Regions from separate parts of the Homo sapiens genome. Here regions 1 and 2 are each linked to region 3. Evidence: promoter capture Hi-C in human tissues and cell types (Jung and others, 2019). All regions are on one chromosome and are shown on one strand. The core of a region is centred on a gene start or on the middle of the fragment in contact, and the rest is flanking DNA. Distances in the headings are between cores, read along the strand shown. Region 1 overlaps CDKN2B-AS1 (CDKN2B and CDKN2A antisense cis and trans regulatory RNA 1). Region 2 has its middle 75 kb from the start of CDKN2A-AS1. Region 3 holds the start of CDKN2B (cyclin dependent kinase inhibitor 2B).

The links. Contacts are between HindIII fragments. The study calls those that stand out against the background at their distance.
Region 1: a fragment that was not itself captured here is called in contact with the fragment with the promoter of CDKN2B in region 3 in 3 of the 25 tissues and cell types used here (H1 embryonic stem cells, mesenchymal stem cells and mesendoderm cells).
Region 2: a fragment that was not itself captured here is called in contact with the fragment with the promoter of CDKN2B in region 3 in 3 of the 25 tissues and cell types used here (bladder, lymphoblastoid cells and thymus).

The regions. Positions count from the first base shown.
Region 1 is chr9:22,095,098-22,099,771 of GRCh38, forward strand. CDKN2B-AS1 (CDKN2B and CDKN2A antisense cis and trans regulatory RNA 1) reads left to right here. Exons shown (of 19, transcript NR_003529.4): 13 at 1,275-1,417; 14 at 2,161-2,267. Among named protein-coding and RNA genes, the nearest start is that of CDKN2B, 88 kb to the left of the region's middle. The HindIII fragment of the contact is 5,121 bases long and covers 1-4,649 here.
Region 2 is chr9:21,889,501-21,894,007 of GRCh38, forward strand. It overlaps a transcript of MTAP not described here. Among named protein-coding and RNA genes, the nearest start is that of CDKN2A-AS1, 75 kb to the right of the region's middle. The HindIII fragment of the contact is 3,541 bases long and covers 1,483-4,507 here.
Region 3 is chr9:22,006,894-22,011,698 of GRCh38, forward strand. CDKN2B (cyclin dependent kinase inhibitor 2B) reads right to left here and starts at 2,412. Exons shown (of 2, transcript NM_004936.4): 1 at 1,905-2,412. The coding sequence starts at 2,060. All of the region lies in intron 1 of CDKN2B-AS1 (CDKN2B and CDKN2A antisense cis and trans regulatory RNA 1), which reads left to right. RefSeq lists silencers at 1,754-1,953, 4,077-4,371. The HindIII fragment of the contact is 12,658 bases long and covers 1-4,805 here.

The DNA.
Region 1 (4,674 bases), core at 839-3,338, 88 kb after region 3:
GTATCAGCAGCGGAGGCTGCAGAACGGCGAATGTTGCTGAACAGCAAATGTTCCTGCCTGATTGTTCCTCTGGAAGCTTCGTCTCAGAGGGGTACCCAGCCGTGTGAGGTGTCAGTCTGCCCCTACTGGGGGGTGCCTCACAGTTAGGCTACTCGGGGGTCAGGGACCCACCTGAGGAGGCAGTCTGTCCATTCTCAGATCTCAAACTGGTTTCAAAGAACATCTTTATTTCTGCCTTCATTTTGTTATGTACCCAGTAGTCATTCAGGAGTGGGTAGTTCAGTTTCCATGTAGGTGAGCGGTTTTGAGTGAGTTTCTTAATCTTGAGTTCTAGTTTGCACTGTGGTCTGAGAGACAGTTTGTTATAATTTCTGTTCTTTTACATTTGCTGAGGAGTGCTTTACTTCCAACTATGTGGTCAATTTTGGAATAAGTGCAGTGTGGTTCTGAGAAGAATGTATATTCTGTTGTTTTGGGGTGGAGAGTTCTGTAGATGTCTATTAGGTCCGCTTGGTGCAGAGCTGACTTCAATTCCTGGATATCCTTGTTAACTTTCTGTCTCGTTGATCTGTCTAATGTTGACAGTGGGGTGTTAAAGTGTCCTATTATTATTGTGTGGGAGTCTAAGTCTCCTTGTAGGTTTCTAAGGACTTGCTTTATGAATCTTGGTGCTCCTGTATTGGGTGCATACAGATTTAGGATAGTTAGCTCTTCTTGTTGAATTGATCCCTTACCATTATGTAATGGCCTTCTTTGTCTCTTTTGATTTTGTTGGTTTAAAGTCTGTTTTATCAGAGACTAGGATTGCAACCCCTGCCTTTTTTTGTTTTCCATTTGCTTGGTAGATCTTCCTCCATCCCTTTATTTTGAGCCTATGTGTGTTTCTGCACATGGTGATGGGAGGTACTGGTATTACAAAAAGCTTCTCCCCCGTGGGTCAAATCTAAGCTGAGTGTTGAGACATAATTGAAATTCACTAGATAGATAGGAGATAGGGGTAGGGAATTCTAATCAGAGGGAATAGCACATGTAAGGCAAACAATACAGTGCATCTGGGAAAGCTATACAATTTTATTGTTATAGGACAAATGTTGGGGAATGTTGAGAGATGGAACTGGAGAGTGAGGCAGAAGTTAGCATTTATTCATTTATTCAGCAGACCTTTATCTATTACCTACATTGCACTAAGTACTGTGTGAGCATTAGAGAGAAAAAGATGAATGAGATTGGACACCATTCGTTCATTCCTGACTATGAACTTGGCATTGTTCTAGGTACCAGAGATATAATAATGAGAAACAGACATGCTCCCTCCCCTCATTGAGGTTACAGCTTAGTGTGGAGACACACAGATGCCTAACGCACTATGGTATGGAAGGTGCTATGGACACAGTGCTCAAATCCATGATCTACATAGGTATGAGAGTGACTTTTCTACAACTTAAATCTGATCTTGTTATTCCCTGCTTAAAATCCTGCAGTAGCTCCCAGTAGTGCCTTCTGGTTAAAATACAAGATATATAGTATGACCTCTCAAGGACCTTTGTTATTTGTCTCTGGCCACCTCTCCAATTTTTCACCATGACCCTGGCCCTGTCCCACTGGCATTCCATCTCCAATCACACGGAACTATGTGGAGTTATTAAAATGCCCTATGTTATTTCAAGACTCAGAGATTTAGTGCCTCAGCCTGTTTTGTTCCCTCTCCCCTCCTCCACCTGGCCTTCTCCAGCTCACTCATCAATCTATTAGACTCAGGCATCATCTGCTTGCCTTCGTAACCCTCCCCACCCCGCTCACCTTGCTGGATTCTGTGCCTTTGCTTGCTGGTTCCCAGAGATCCCTGCCCTTATTTTTCTTTGCCTGCTGGATTTGCAGTGTTGTGTCCTATATGGTGTAGAAAACCAGCTCAGGCTCCCACTTCTCTGGGCTTATGTGGTCAGATGCAGACCTGTCTTCCATCCATACCAAAGGCCATCAGGGAGTTTCTTTTGTCCTCTTCACCAGCCCATTCTTAATCTTTCTGATAAATTTTCTGCACTGTGTGCGCGTGACAAATTGGGTCAAGGTGATGGTAATTTACAGCATGAGATGGTGAACTTGCTGCCTGTGCTGATGAGCCCATTGGATTTCCCCTAACTAGTCTGTTTCCCTACCCAGGTGGAGAACTTCAGTAGAGGAAGTGGCAGGAATTTGGGAATGAGGAGCACAGTGATTAAACTGGGGCCATTCATATGAGAGTTTAAGAACTCAGACCAGTGACTTAGGTGAGTAAAAATATCAGAAAAAGGGAAAGAGGATAAGAGCAACTTGGGCCATAATTAAACTTGTCAATGAAATGAAGGTCTGTTATTCTAATGCCTACATTTTGCCAAACCTTTGTGCTTATAACTTCATCATTTGCTGTGATTAACAAAGTTGAAAGAATAATAACTACTTACAAGGCCCACATCACCTCCTTATACCACTAGCTTTTGCTTTCCGTACAGACATAGCTTTAAAAAGTGCAAATCCTATTCTGTACCTGAGCCACAACCCTAAAAGGGAACTTGTTTACAATTCTAAGAATAATATTGTCCTTTAAAGGTGAAGGCTCGCTGGAAAACATGCCATTCATGTGATAAAAAGCAGGTAGCAGGTAGTGCTAAAGACTTACTAGACTGCATGTTTGTGCTTTCTGCTGCATTCCTCTAATCTCAAGGCAGTATAAGGAGATAACATCTTCACAGCCCTTTCAGCCCTGTTGCAATTTCTTTGACCCTGGCCTGATATAAAAGGCAAACTTGGTTTTTCACTGTTCTAGTCATGCAGTTTCTTTGTGGTTCCCTTTAGAAAGACTTGAGGCTATGAGTCAAAGCTTTTACGTCTTGCTGATAGTTCAGAGTTGTGATGTGAAGCAATAAATAAAATCCCTCCTTCCACATACTTGTCTCCTTGATTAGAATCATTCTGGGCAAATTTAGAGGCTCATAAAGTCCATTTAGATATTTAGTGAAAAAACACCAGCACTCAGAACAGAATGTTGATAATGTAGATGGAATATCTTTCTCTCTCTGTCTCTGTGTGTGTGTGTGTGTGTGTGTGTGTGTATTTATATATGTGTGTATTTATATTATATATGTGTATATTTATATATGTGTGTGTATACATTTATATGTGTATATGTATTTATAGTAAATATATCACATGTATTTATATATAGTAAAAAAGAGGGGACTATAATATATCTTTATATGTTAGCATTTATTTTAAAAAGAAAACACAGGAATATCTAAAAGAAACTATTACTTATAGGGGTTATGGGAAATGCCATGGGCAAGAATTTTTTTTTTTTTTATCACCATGCTTTCTGAAACAACACGATATGTATCACCTTTATAAAAATAAAATAAAATAAAAAATGAAAAACAAAGTCCACTTGTAACCACATGTCAGTAGCATGTTTGCTTTCAGGGTACATCAAATGCATTCTATAGCACAGGATGTTCCAGTCACTCTAACAAAAGATGTCCTGTTTGGAACACCAACTCTGTATCAGTTACTTCAGACACTTTCTCTCATTGAGTCCCTTCAGCAAGCCCTTTTAGGTTTATGTTCTTAGATGAGGAAACCAAGTCTTAGAAACATTAACTGGCCAAACTAAGATCAGAGAGTTAGAAATGTCAGAGCCCAGAACTGGCATCTTCTGACTTCAGATCCCATGTACTTTCCCCTACACTGTGCTGACCACACCTCCATTACTACAGATGTGTTGATTACATCTAGGGGCCAAAGTACACATTCATCCAATAAATGCTTACTGAATGCTTACCGTGTTCAGGGCACTGTGGCAATCTTTTGTAATGCAAGAAAAATAAGAGTAGTGAAGACAGTCAAGGAAACAAAGAAGCCTAATACTAGGCAAGAAGTGCTTTTGATGGAATTAAGCACAATGAGGGTGTTAGTACAGAAAGGACATTTAATTGAACTGGGAAAGTTCATGGCAGTTTTCCCAGAGATGAGTCTTGAAGGACAAATGGTATTTAGCCAGGAGGAAAGGGGGTCAAGTGTATTCCAGGGAGAGGGAACAACATGTACAAAAGCACAGTTTTGAAAGAACACTCCATTTTTGAGGAATAGCCAATAGCTGGGCACGTCTAGAGCATAGGGTAGTAGAGAGAAAGGAGGCCGGAAATGGGAAGAGACTTGAATGCCACATTCAGTTATGTGGACTTCATCTTGTAGCAATGGGAGCCTACAAAATTTTAAGTAGAGGAATAAAAAGATTCCATCTAAAACTTAGAAAAATTACTTTGGCAGGATAAGAGACAATGAATTGACGGGGAGCTGGGTTTGATAGCAAGAAACTGTTTGGGAGACTGTTCTAATTACATATTTTCTTGTTTTTAGATGCACATATACGTACTTTTTTAGCTGGTCATTTCTTTCTGAAATTGGAATGAATCTTACAATCAATGGCATGTTATAATTTCATTGGCAGCATTATTTGTCTCTTAAGGGCCCCCAAATAATAGTGTGTCACATAACTGATAGCATCTCAAATTAGATGAAATACAGTAGTCCAGGCAAGAAATACTGAGATGGTGGGGTGGTAAAGAGGGAAAAGATTTGAGCCACATTTAGATCCTGATGTGGTATTAATTATTAAGTAAAAAAAAGGAATGTGCAGTACAT
Region 2 (4,507 bases), core at 2,003-4,502, 120 kb before region 3:
CTCATTTGGGTAGATTATGTCAGAGGAAAGGTCTGGGACTAAAGGGCTGCTGTTCAGATTCTCTTGTCCCATGGGGTGTTGTCCCTTGATATGGTCCTATCCCCCCACTTCCCCTAGGGATGGGGCTTCCTGAGAGCCAGACTACAGTGATTGTTATTGTTCTTCTGGGTCTAGCCTCCCAGCAGAGCTACCAGGCTCCAGGCTGGTACCGAGGAGTGTCTGCAAAGAGTCCTGTGATGTGATCTGTCTTTGGGTTTCTCAGCCATGGATACCAGCACCTGCTTCAGTGGAGGTAGCAGGGGAGTGAAGTGGACTCTGTGAAGGTCCTTGGTTGTATGTTTGTTTAGTGCACTGGTTTTCTCTAATGCTGGTTGTGCTAGTGGTTAGTTGACCTTTAGCCAGAAGGTGGCTCTCTCAAGACAGCATTAGCTGATACAAGCTTGCCCTAAAATTGCCCATGTAACTATTCAGGTTTCTCAGGTGATAGGAAAGACCATAGAGCTCCCAAGAGATTATGTCTTTTGTCTTCAGCTACCAGGGCAGGTAGAGAAAGACCATCAGGTGGGGGCAGGATTAGGTGTGTCTGAGCTCAGACTCTCCTTGGGTGGGGCTTGCTGTGGCTGCTGTGGGGGATGGGGTATGGTTCTTAAGCCGATGGAGTTATGTTCCCAGGTGGATTATGGCTGCCTCTCCTGCATCATATAAGTCACCTGGAAGTGGGGGAAAGCTGATAGTGACCAGCCTCACCCAGTTCCCACGCAGCCAGCAAGGCCAGTCTCACTCCCACCACCAGCCCCAAGTTTATATTCAGGCAACCAGCAATCACCGCTGAGATCTTGCCCCAGGCTACATGTCTCCTTGCTGAGAATTCAAGCAGGGCTTTCAGGCCCAGTCCCTTCTCACCTGCCATGGCTTCTGTGCTCATATCTGCACTTCTCATTGATCTCTCACTTCTGGATTCTGCCCAGGAAAGTTCATGATTGGTCAAAATTATTACAGAGTTCAACTGGACGTTTTCTTCTCTCTGTGGTTCTTTCCGAATTCCACTGGCAGCCCTCCCCAAGGACCCTTGTGAGAAAAAGTCAGAAATGGCTTCCCTGGGGATCAGGAGTGTCCACAGGGCTCTTACTGCTGCTTCTTCTACCTTTACATTTTGCTGGGCTCTCTAAATTCATTTCAACTCTAGGTAAGGTTAAATCCTTCTTCTGTGATCTGAATTTTCAGGTTCCCCAGTGAGGATGTGTGTTTGGAGATGGACCTTCCCCCTGACACTTTGGGCACTCCCAGTTTTTTGGCTGTCTCACAGAGCTTGCAGTGGCAAGCTGTTTCCTTCAAAAGGTCTGTGAATTATTTCAGTTTTCCTGGTACATTCTTGTGGTCGTTCTTGGAGCAAAAGTTTATGATGTAAGCCTCCACATACTGTTCTGTTCGTCCAAGTGGGAGCTGCAAGTTAGTCCTGCTTTGTAGCCACGATTTTCCCCAATATTTTGCATTTCTGATAGTTGCCGTGAGACTTTGATGTTGCTGGTCTAGGAACCGTAGTTTGAGAACAACTGTTCTAGCATAATTGAAAGAAGGTTATCTGGCCATAGTCAAACCATCAAGGGAACCAACAAATATAAAAGCAAAAATTCCCAACCAAAAGGCAGTAAGTTCGAAGATTCAAGAAACATCAAGCCACACAGATGAAAAAGAACCAGAAGAAAAACAATGGAAATTCAAAAAGCCAAAGTGTCTTCTTACCTCAAAATGACCACACTAGATCCCTTGCAATGTTTCTTAACCAGGCTGAAATGGCTGAAATGACAAACATTGAATTCAGAATCTGGATGGCAATGAATATCATTGAGATTCAGGAGAAAGGTGATACCTACTCCAAGGAATCTAAGGAATACAGTAAAATGATACAAGAGCTAAAAGATCAAAATAGCCATTTTAAGAAAGAAACAGACTTATCTGATAGAGCTGAAAAACTCACTACAAAAATTCCATAATACCATCAGGATTAACAGCAGAATAAACCAAGCTATGGAAATAAACTCAGAGCTTGAAGACCAGTTCTTCAAATCAACTCAGACAAAAATAAAAAAGAATGAACAAAACCTCCAAGAAATGTGGGGTTATATAAAGGGACCAAACCTATGAATGACTGACATCCCTGGCAGAAAGGGAGCAAGAGCAAGGAACTTGTAAAATATATTTAATGAGACTGTGCACAAAAGTTTCCCCAGCCTTGCTAGAGAGGCGAATATTCAAATGCAGGAAATTTAGAGAAACCCTGTAAGATACTATACAAAATGACCATCCCCAAGACACATAGTTATCAGATTCTCCAGCGTCAACACAAAAGAAAAAAATACTAAAAGCAGCTAGAGAGAATAGGAAGGTCACTGACAAAGGGACCCCCATCAGGCTAACAATGGACCTTTCAGCAGAAACACTGTAAGCCAGAAGAGAATGTGGCCTATATTCAACATTCTTAAAGAAAAGAAATTTTAACCAAGAATTTTATCCAGCCAAACTAAGCTTCATAAGAAAACGAGAAATAAAATCTTTTTCAGAAAAGCAAATGCTAAGGGAATTTGTTACCATCAGACTTACCATACAAGTCCTAAAGGAAGTGCTAAATGCAGAATCAAAAGACTGTTACCAGCCACCATAAAAACACACTTAAGTATATAGACTGTTTACATTATAAAGCAACTACACAATCAAGTTTGCATAGCCACCAGCTAACAATACAATGACAGGAACAAATCTGCACATAGTAATATTAACCTTGAGTATAAATGGGTTAAATGCCCCACTTAAAAGGCACACAGTGGCAATTTGGATAAAGAAGCAAGACTCAACTCTATGCTATCTTCAAGATACCCATCTCATATGCAGTGACACCCATAGGCTCAAAATAAAGGGATGGAGAAAAATCTACCAAGCAAAGGAAAAACAGAGAGAAGAGTAGGGGTTGCTATTCTTATTTCAGACAAAACAGACCTTAAACCAACAATGATAAAAAAAGACAAGGGCATTATATAATGATAAAGGGTTTAATTCCACAGGAAGACTTAATTATCCTAAATATATATGCAGCCAATACTGAAGCACTCAGATTTATAAGACAAGTTCTTAAAGACCTTGATTCCACAAAGAGACTTAGATTCCCACAAAATAATAGTGGGACACTAAAACACCCCACTGACAGTGTTAGACAGATCATTGAGGCAGAGAATTAACAAAGATATTCAGGACCTAAACTTGACACTTGAACAAATGGACCTGACAGACATCTGCAGCACACTCCACCCAACAACAACAGAATATACATTCTTCTCATCTGCACATGGCATATAGACTAAAATGAACCACATCTTGACCATAAAGCAATTCTCAACAAATTCAAAAATAAAATCATACCAACCTACACTCTCGGACCACAGTGCAATGAAAATAGAAATCAATAGTGAAAAGATATTTCAAAATTATACAATTACATGGAAATTAAACAACCTTCTCCTTAATGGCTTTTGGCTAAGCAATGAAATTAAGGCAGAAATCAAGAAATTCTTTGAAAATAATGAAAACAAAAGTACAACATACCAGAATCTCTGGGACATGGTGAAAGCAGTGTTAAGAGGAAAATGTACAGTGCTAAATGCTGACATTAAAATTGCCAATCCAATTACCTCCACCTGGTCCTGCCCTTGACACATGGGGATCATGGGGATTACAATTCAAGGTGAGGTTTGGGTGGGAACACAGATCCAAACCATATCAGCACTGGTACAAAAACAAAAACACAAATAATCTCAAATAAACAATCTAACATTATACCAAGAGGATGTAGAAAAACAAGAGCAAACCAACCCAAAAGATAGAAGGAGAAAAGAAATAACCAAAATCAGAACTTAACAAAGTTAATGTGCAAAATACATACAATTGTTTTCAAACATCAATGAAACCAAACGTTGGTTTTCTGAAAAAATAAATAAGATTGAAAGAGTGCTTGCTAGACTTACAAAAAAAGAGAGAAGATCTAAATAAAGACAATCGGAAATGACCAAAGGGACATTACCATCAACCCCACAGAAATATAAAAAACCCTCAAAGACTAAATGAACACTTCTGTGCACATAAACTAGAAAACCTAGAAGGAATGGATAAATTCTGGGAAACGTACAACCTCTCAAGATTAAACCTGGAAAAAATTGAAACCCTGAACAGACCATTAATGAGTTCCAAAATTGAATCAGTAACAAAAACCTGTCAAACAGAAAAAGCCTTAGATTAGATGGATTCACAGCTGAATTCTACCATATGTAAAAAACAAAAGGTATTACCAATCCTACTGAAACTATTCAAAAAAAAAAAAATCAAAGGAGGAGGGACTCCTCTCTAACTTATTCTATAAGGCTAGCATCATTCTGATACACACACACACACACACACACACACAGAAATTCTGGCCAACATTCCTGGTGAACATGTATACAAAAATACTCAACAAAAT
Region 3 (4,805 bases), core at 1,162-3,661:
ATCATGCAAAATCTTATAAAATTATAATAAATGATTTTTCCTTAACAGTTCATCATTTTAAATTTAGACTATAATATTTTTAATGTAATATAAAACTAACTATATTTGTATACTACAGGATTTTATAATAGCTAAGATTTAAAAATGTTAAACAGTAAATATTTTGCTATATAAAAAGAGCTTGGGCCAGGCCCAGTGGCTTATGCCTGTAATCCCAGCACTTTGGGAGGCCATAGCAGGCAGATCACCTGAGGTCAGGAGTTCGAGACCAGCCTGGCCAACATGGTGAAATCCCGTCTCTACTACAAAAAATAAAAAATTAGCTGGGCATGGTGGGGCGTGCCTGTAGTCCCAGCAACTCAGGAGGCTGAGGCAGGAGAATCGCTTGCATCCTGGAAGAGGTTGCAGTGAGCTGAGATTGTGCCACTGCACTCCAGCCTGTCCGACAGAGTGAGGCCTCATCTCAAAAAAAATAAAATAAATAAATAAATAAATAGAGCTTGGATGTTAGCAGTCAATCAGGATGATGCATAACTTAGAAAAAATGATGTTTTGCAGGAGTAATCCTGTAGCAGCCATTTGTGTACATGAACATTATGAAAACATTTGCTGTCATATTTAAAGTCAATTATAAGACAATTTTTGGTAACTAAATGTCTAAAATCGAGTTATTTGTTATGGGTTTATGCACTTTAAAATATACCATTTAATTGAAAGGCAGTATACTTCTCATGTTTTGTTGGCTTGTTTCATTAATATTAGAAATGTTCATTTCATCTCTTAAAAACCGTGATAAGTTATATCTACTAGTGATGTAAGGATATTTTACATAGAAAAAAAGGGGAAAATAGCTGCTGTTAGTATTTCAGAAAATGGTGAATTACATATATAACTTGTTTTTATAATTATTAATAAAATTTTAAGTTTTTAAGATGCACTTTACAATATTTTTGCTCCTTTAAAAATCCCTCATTTGTTATACCATTATTCTAAGAATTCAAAAGAAATGAACACTTCTTTAAAATCTATACTATTAACAAGATCCCTTAATATTAGCTTAGTTTTAGAGGGTGATAGTGAGGTGAGTACTGAATATGACCACTAGCCAACGGTAAAGTACAAAAGAGTTGTCCGAGATTGTAAAAGAAATAAAAAATATCAGTACTAATTAAAGCAGGATTCGTACTTAAACATTGAATAAGTGTATTTTAACAATGAAGATAAAGATGCATTATTTATGAAGATCCTTTGCCATTCAAAAAGGACCTAACAGTTGCTGCAGGAATATTTTTGTAATCTGGGCACTGAGTATGATAATTAAAGAATGAGAAACCTATAGAACTATATATTTTTTCTCTTATGCATCACTCATAAGACACTGCTAACATAAAAGGAACTAAGTACTGTGGTTGAGGAATCCCGTCTCATTCTCAATTAACCTCTATGAGAAAACAATACAACAGATTTCATATAGTAGCTTAGAAGTTTACATTGATTTTTTCCATGTACTATGATTTTGTAGAATTCCTTAAATCCAATCTAGAATGCGTAACTTATACTTTACTTATCTTTATCGTTGAAAGCAGACAGACAAGATAATCTTCTTCCCTAAATAAGCTTTCCTTTTCTCCTTTTCTCCCCAATTCAGTCTATTCCTTGCATCTCTGATCATGAGATGGCAGAACAAAAACCACTAAAAAAAGCTTAAACAGTGGGTTTTTCAATGTCTCTCTTTAGGATTTTTGCTGGGTAAAAGCCTGTTTTACGCGTGGAATGCACACCTCCGGCCAACGGAGACTCCTGTACAAATCTACATCGGCGATCTAGGTTCCAGCCCCGATCCGCCGAGGCCGCGCCCCGCGTTCGCGCGCCCCCTGCCGGCGAGGCCCTGGGGCCCCAGCTACCTGGATCGCGCGCCTCCCGAAACGGTTGACTCCGTTGGGATCCGCGCCGGCTTCCAGGAGCTGTCGCACCTTCTCCACTAGTCCCCGCGCCGCGGCGCTGGCCAGACCCTCATCGCTGCCGCCCCCACTGGGCATGCCCTTGTTCTCCTCGCGCATTCCGCAGCCCCCAGACGCGCAGCGGCCCGGATAATCCACCGTTGGCCGTAAACTTAACGACACTCTTCCCTTCTTTCCCACGCTGCTCCGGCGCACTCTCTCCTTCCTAGGAGACCTGGGCTCAGCTTCATTACCCTCCCGTCGTCCTTCTGCGGCTTGGGGCCCCGTGCAGTGGCCGAGCGGCCGGTCGTTAGCTCCGGGCTTTTCCTGGCGCTCAAGAACCAGCGGGCGCGCCTGGATTGCTTCTGGGAAAAAGCGCCTAGCGCGGACGCAGCCGAGCTCAAAGCCGCTCTGGCCGCAGGGTGCGGACGCGTCGCGGAGTCCTCACTGCCCCGCCTCGCTCTGGCAGAGTGGGGAGCCAGCCGGCAAAGAATTCCGTTTTCAGCTGGGCCAAGGGGCCGGCGTCTCCCCACCCCCTTAGGCTCCGCCCCCTGTCCGCTGTGATCGCCGGGAGGCCAGGCCCGGGCCGACGCGTCACGAGGGCGGGGAAGCCTGCCCAAAGATGCTAGGACGCATGCGCCAGAGACTGGGCCAGGGAGCCGCCAGGAATGCTGGCTGCACTGCTCGCTGGATGTCCAGTAAAGCCAAGGCTAATATTTTGGGAATGTTCACCACTGCCCTCAGCTCCTAATCCCCAGTAGGCGGAGCAGAGGATTTCTGTTCCTTCAGCCAGCCAGTTGGTTTCACTGTGGAGACGTTGGTGGCTCCCTTGTGACCGAGAGAAAGTCATTCAAAATAACTCCGTGTTTCTTAAGATGTCTGAAAGCGACAGCTCTGCACCTGTCATACAAGTTAAATTCATCCCCAGGCAGTACTTGGGCTTCACAAGTTTCATAACTTGTATCAAACTTAGCAATTTTCTCTTGGATGTGTCTTTCTGTTTGAATTAGTCAACCATAAAAATAGAGAAAAATCCCGAGAATCATGTTTTGCGTGTGCTTTTTAATTCTTTCCATTTTTGCATTATGGATACAACCCTTAAAAGAGAAAAAAACTAGTTCGAGATTGAGAGTGGCAACCTGGCACACATAAGACAAAAAAAAATTATACTTTAAGAATCTGAGATCCCAGTTTCATCATATTTGTACAGTAAATCTTTGTTTGCACTCTTACCTATTTAAACCCACTTTGTCAGGTATCTTATTTTTATTTATCATGAGTAATAAAGGAAATTTATGCAGTAATAATGAAACATCATAAGAGAGGGGTGTGGTGCTGGGCTTGTCATTAAACAGGCTGAACCTGTCATTAAATTCTCTTCTGAAGATTTAAATGCCAAGTGCTTTTTTTCCCCTTCCTAATCTTCCTAGGTGAGTTTGAATCAACATTTATTACTTAAAATATTTAAAACATTTCAGCGGATGCTACATTGGATAGGAAGAGAACCGCAAGTTATGGATTTGTTGCCTAAAAACTTTGGTGAGGAACTGCATAAGTGGACCTCTCCTAAAAGTGAACAATTTTTGTTTACAGAATCATTTTGGTTCGGAGTGCTGAGGAAGACAAAGTCTTAACAGGAGGGCAATTGCTTGTGTATTGCAAAATGAGAGTCTTCACATGTTTTTTTTAGGATACCTTAGCTCTGACTCCTCATCCCCCAAATCCCTGTAGAATTAAAAAAAGCTCTTTCTTTTAAAGGCAGTGGAAGTGCCACCACCATGGAAGTGCTGGTTAGGGCTGAAAATCTACTGACAGAGCCTCAACAGAGCTGAAATCCACCTGGACAGGGAAGGGAACCGGGTAGCATTAATAACAATTTCTTTTTCTTTCCCATCCAACCCCCATTTCCTAGTCTTCAGTTTCTTAATTTCTCTACCTTTTACTCTTATGCTCTTGTTTTGACCTTTGAGTTTCTCTGAAACTTATCAGAAAAGTTAGGACAAGATAGTCTGACCCAATTCTTGAGCCATTTTCTTAGGTAGTAAATATGTCAGAAAAATGAAAGCTGTTTGGAGTTGATAAGGAAATGGAAGATAATGTTTTTCTTTGAGGGGGACATAAAGAATGGTGATAGGGAAAGAACCAATGACTAAGTAAAATGACTGAGAATCTTGCACGAGGCAGATGTGTGAGCTTCGCGAAGCAAGTTGACTGAATGAAAAACAACTTTGGGTAGGGAAAACGTTGCCGGGGGCATTCGCGCTTACTAGCACCACGGACAGCGCTTTGCTTATACTCAGGCCTGGGTGGTCCTAACCAGCTCCAGACAGAATTCTAAAGCTTCACACTTGATCTTCCAAAGCCCCTTTTCTCCCGTCAAATAGAAAGGACATTATGGAAGCTCAATGAATTTCTTTGAAAAACCAACCTGCTCAACCTGGTTTTCAAATATGATTGGATTTTATCTAATATTCTCTGTATAAAGAATATTATATAGTCTATATTTAGAAGACGAGAAGAGAAATCAAACTTATTGTGTACTCTGTACGAAGTGCTTTACAGCTGTTGTTTCATTTAATACTCATAAAACTCCTCTGTGGCATGTGTCCATATTTCAATTTTACAGACAAGCCAAAAGGATCAGAGAATTTGAGTGACTTGTATACTAGCTAATCATTGTTGGAGGTGGGTATAACTTTTGCGACTTCAGAGTCTTTTTACCCTTTATACTACATAGTGTTTTTTTTAGCAGCTGTCATGGTAGGCTTAACTGGAAAAAAGTAATAAACTGGCTTATAATTATTTTTCAGTCTACACTGTGTTTTCCAGATGGCTCACCTCACAGCACACCCTTACCAGACTTCA